Linked DNA regions of Homo sapiens: region 2 is linked to region 1. Evidence: promoter capture Hi-C in human tissues and cell types (Jung and others, 2019). All regions are on one chromosome and are shown on one strand. The core of a region is centred on a gene start or on the middle of the fragment in contact, and the rest is flanking DNA. Distances in the headings are between cores, read along the strand shown.

Evidence for each region. Contacts are between HindIII fragments. The study calls those that stand out against the background at their distance.
Region 2: a contact is called between a fragment that was not itself captured here and the fragment with the promoter of MFSD6L in region 1, in 2 of the 25 tissues and cell types used here (H1 embryonic stem cells and pancreas).

Annotation. Positions count from the first base shown.
Region 1 is chr17:8,798,082-8,800,649 of GRCh38, reverse strand. It overlaps MFSD6L (major facilitator superfamily domain containing 6 like), which reads left to right and starts at 1,285. Exons shown (of 1, transcript NM_152599.4): 1 at 1,285-2,568. The coding sequence starts at 1,530. RefSeq lists a silencer at 1,152-1,211. The HindIII fragment of the contact is 25,791 bases long and covers 1-2,568 here.
Region 2 is chr17:8,562,666-8,565,233 of GRCh38, reverse strand. The region is part of intron 7 of MYH10 (myosin heavy chain 10); the gene reads left to right. Among named protein-coding and RNA genes, the nearest start is that of MYH10, 67 kb to the left of the region's middle. The HindIII fragment of the contact is 5,307 bases long and covers 1-2,568 here.

The DNA.
Region 1 (2,568 bases), core at 36-2,535:
AGACGGAGTCCCACTCTGTTGCCCAGGATGGAGTGCAGTGGCGTGATCTCGGCTCACTGCAAGCTCCACCTCCCGGGTTCATGCCATTCTCCTGCCTCAGCCTCCCAAGGAGCTGGGACTACAGGCACACACCACCACAACCAACTAATTTTTTTGTATTTTTAGTAGAGACAGGGTTTCACCGTGTAAGCCAGCATGGTCTCGATCTCCTAACCTCGTGATCCACCTGCCTCGGCCTCCCAAAGTGCTGGGATTACAGGCATGAGCCACCGCACCAGGCCATCTCTAGATTATTATAGCCTGTTCCAGCAAGAGAGGAAATGCCTTCAAAAAAATTATCTCCAATCCAGGTGGCTTGGACACCACTAATTTCACCAGTGAAAAACTATTTCTAATATCTATTATGTCCATTAGTGAAGACACTTCTGTTGATTTAAGATTGTCGACGTGCTTGTACTAGCTGTCTCTGTCTTTTTGATGAAATGCTAGCTAACCACCTCAAGTGTGTGTACTCTCAAACAGGGCACCAGACCACCCTTAGGTGTAGGTTAAAACTGTGCAGCACATACATATGGCTCTGGGGACTGCCATGTGCTGGCGATCGGCTGCAAGGAGTTCCCCTGGACGACTGCCATCAGCTGTCAGCCCTCCTTAGGGACTGTCCCAGCTGGAGACAACCATGTCACCCAAGGTCATGCCATTTCCGAGGGCAGTATGCATCCAATGAAACAATTCTAGGCCCCGGGGACAAAAATACCTGCCTTCCTGGAGCTTGGATTCTGGTGGAGACAGACAATAAACAAAGTCAACACATGAAATATAAGCCCGTAGTGCCTTGGTCAGTGATAAGTTCTAGAGAGAACGATCAAGTAGGGCAGGGGAGTGGGAGTCTTGGGGGCGGGGTGGGTACAGGGGTATGGGATTTGCGATGTCAGAGTGGACCGTGTTGATCTCTGTCTGTGGTTGGTCACTGATCAGGGTGCATTCCAGTACAGACCTGAAGAAGATGAGGGAGACAGCCTGGTGGATACCATTCATTCCATTCTGGCTCCCCCCCACGCCGACTCTGACGGTTTTACTTGCCTGAAGCAGTCCAGGCGTTTAGCTCAGGCTCCTGGGCCACATTGGCAGCCAGAGGCCAGGCGGGGCCCGAGGCCTAGCTCAGAGCGCACCCTACAGGCCCCCGGACGCGCCCCTAGCGCACCTGCGCACGTCCGGGCAGGTGGCCCGCGGAGGCGGTGGGACGTGGCAGGTGCGGCTCGCAGGTGCGCTGGCCCCGCCCCCACCTTCGCCCCCGCCCCGCCTCTCCCTCCGGGCGGGGCCCCTTTCGGTCCAACGGCAGGACCTGGGGGCTGTGGCCGGGGGCGGCCGTTGACCTGGTGACCGCGGCGCCGCCCCAGACCGGGGGCGCAGTCCCACTCGCTCCGAGCCCCGGTCCCCCAAGCCTCCCTCCCGGGTACCTGGGGCCGCGCCCGCCCTGCGCCCAGCTCCGCCCTCCGTCGGCCCAGGCCTGACAGAGCCCGGCAGCCATGAGTGCCAACCCCCGGTGGGACATCAGCAGGGCGCTGGGGGTGGCCAAGCTCTTCCACCTGGTGTGCGGGGTGCGGGAAGCCTGCGTGACCCCGTTCCTGACCCTTTACCTGAGGCAGCTGGGCTTGGCCGCGCCCTGGGTGGGCACCCTAATGGGAACCAAGCACCTAATCGCTGCCTTCTGGGCTCCCGTCTGTGCCTTCCTGGCCAAAAGCTACCGGAAAAGGAGAGCGCTTCTGATCGGCTCCCTGCTCGGCTCGGTGGGGGCCAGCCTGCTGATGGTCCTGGTCCCACCGGTAGACAAAAATCGGGTGCACTTCCCTTGTAATGGAAGCAGCGGCCTGACCAGCACAGACGCACTCCCGGGGGTCACGCTACCTGTGAACATCACCTCGGCCCAAGAGTCTGCCTCCAGCCACCCAGCCAAGAGGACTGCAGAGGTGGAAATGCCTGGCTTCAGAAACCCACCTGGTGAAAGTGACCGAGAAACTTTCCGTGATCTGCACGTCTACTTAGCGCCCTCCGTTGAAGGAGCTAGGACCACATCCCAAGCTCTCCTCCATCCTGTCACTTCGGGGCTGAAAGATCATCCCTGGGAAGTTACTTTTGAGGTGGTCAAGACAGCCCTCCCCTTGCTTCCTGGGGGGAAAGGGCCCGGGAATCCAGCCAATTTGTCAGGGACCAAGGGGAAAGCCTGGGCTTTTGACCTGTCCTTGGAGGCGTTGCGGCGGACTTTTATCCTCTCCTTGGGGTCCGTGGCGTTCTGGGAGCTGCTGACAGCGCCTCTGGAGCAGGTGGCAGATGACAGCCTTTATGAGTTCCTGGATTTTGTGGATGCCACTGACCGATACAGAAGCCTGTGGGTCTGGAGGTTGCTGGGCATGTCGGCAGGCGTGTGTGGCATCACAGCCTTGGTGGGGCAGCTGGACTGCTTCCTGATGACCAGTGGCCCCCGAGGTGTGGTCCACTTCTATGGGTACTCGGTGGTCAGCACCCTGGCCTTACTGGTGAGCATTGCCTTTCCCATTCCCATCTGTC
Region 2 (2,568 bases), core at 48-2,547, 240 kb after region 1:
TATTATTTGCCAGCCACTGTGCAGCTTAATTGATATCTCCAAATGGATGTCAATAGATTCTTGAAGTTTAACATATTCCAAATGAAAGTTTTTCCTTTCCTTTCAAAATTTGTTCCTTTATGTCTTACATCAATAGATGGTATTATGAAATCACCCAGTTGGTTAAACTTAAAATAAAAGCAATAGCAAAACCTAGAAAGACAAAATACCTAGGAATCAGCCTTTTTCTCATGGCCCACGTCCAGGCCAACAGTGAATCCTGTTGGTTAAACATCTAGAAGGTGTTTCAGATCTGTCCACATTTCTTCTCCTAACTAGCTAGTTAGTCTAAAACCATATCTGAGGATATTTCTTCTATTATTCTCTATCACAGTATCCTGTTTATTTCCCTCATGGCACCTATCACAAGCTGTAACTAATTACTTTGTGTATTTATTATCTTTCCTAGTAGAATGTCTAAGATCTTTGTCAGTAGGGACTTTGTATCTTTGGTTCCTAGCATAGTGCCCCACAGGTATATTTATGGATTTTATGGAATTCATTTACTGAAAATGTGGCAGACACTACAAAGTGCCATACACTCTTCCAGGCCCTGGGAATATACCAGTGGTCAAAACTAAGGTTCCCTAGCCCTGTAGAGCACACCTTCATATTGGTGTTAACTTTAATATGTTTTCAACGGCATGTCATGATGTTGTTGAGCTCGGGGAAGGTAGTGCATATGCTAGATCCTCTGAGAATATGCATGCCCCCATTTTAGAAGCAAGGGTAGAGAACATGAGGGAGGCAGTTGCTCCGTGGGCAGGCCAGGCCTTGGGTTGAGATCAATGTCATACCAAGAGTAGTACGATGTTAAAAAATGAGTTGTGTATACAGTGAAATTTCATGCAGTCATATTTATAAGCTACATGCTTACAGTGAAAATATTTGAGGCTATAAACTCCATAAGCTTTAGAATCCATTTGGTTCCATTTCTTTGATCTGATATAGACGACTAATTTCCTGAAGAATATCTTTTCTTTCAAAGATACTAGCATATGGTTTATATTAAAGGGATTCTTTATTTAGGAGAGCATTACCCTTAAGAAAATAATCGTTCACAGTTAGTCCAGTTCTCTGTTTATGGAGAAGTAAAATGCGTTCCAGATGGAGGAGATTTATGTAAAAAGAATCTCTCATAATGAAACTTTAAAAACAGGGACTTCAATTTCAAAATGATTGTTTGGATCAGCAGGTACATCTTCCCTCACAGAGTTTTAGTTAGAATCACTTTCTCTATTTCCACAAATCCTTCTTTTCTTTCCTTTTATTTTCTTTCTCTCTCTCTTTTTTTTTTTTTTTTCCAAGTTGACTTAAGCCAGGCTGGCAATTTCCAACTATTATGTACCTCTTGGTAGATAAGTATCCTCCAGCAGTTAAAGCTAGGTAAGGGCTCTAGGCATCCTCCTTACAGTTTGGCGACCAGGTTATAATGAAAGCACGTCCGGATTCTGCACCCTCATATCTATTTATCAAAAGGCAGTTGCTGAAAACAGTTTTGTAAGTTGCATGCAGCCCAGCTCTGTTTAATTTCTCTAACCAAACGTTTACCTGAAAGATTTACTGAGGCAAATGTGACAGTATCAGTGACAGAATATGGTCTGCACCAGGCAACCAGCATCTTCCAGATCACTGGCTGCACACAGCCATTTAGTATCAAGCTCTAGGAGCACCCCCAACAATACAGCCTCCTGGACTTGCTGGAGTCTCAACACTTGTTCCCTTGACCCCGGATTGGGGAGGGTCTATATATATCTTTCTTTGTTTTTATTTATGTATTTATCTTTTTTTAAGGCTCTATTTGAAGTTAATATATATCTCTTTCTAATCAGTCCATGGCTTAATGCCACTCATGTTACCCTAGTGATTTCTAATATCCATTATACTAAGTAATGAGGCCACTTAGTGCATGTGAAAACTCATTTTACTAACAACAAAGCTTCTGGTTTGGTTTGGAGATTAAGATAGCTAAAGCATTTAAGGTGGCCATCTGGCCTTTGGATTAAGTGCTAGCTCATTACTCCTAGAATGGATTTTCTCATTTAGGGCAAATAGCTAACACACATGCATAGCACCCTATCTGTGCTGATGTGTTTTAATGCATACTGCAGATCATGTAATAACTTTAGATGCCAAATTAAGAAGGGGGAAAATATGTTCAGAATATGAAACAAACCTGCATTGCCCCTAAATTAAGTTGCTAACTAATAACTAATCTAGTTTTAGTTACTATAGATACATTATAATCACCCCAGAAAAGATTCTAGAAATCGATGTCAATTCAGAACAAACAAAATTTTTGAAACTAATTAAGATAATTTTCATTTTATTTTCTTCAGGGTATGAAAATATCAAATATCCGGGTTTCCCTATTGCACATTTTGAGTGAAATCCTTAACAAGTTATATTTGATTATATATGAGAGAATTCTAGTTGTCTTTGCTGTTGAGAGCTCTCACAGTACACGTGTAATTTCACTTGTTTCTGGATTGGTATACAATAAGCGTTATCAAAATGTGTAGCTGTAAT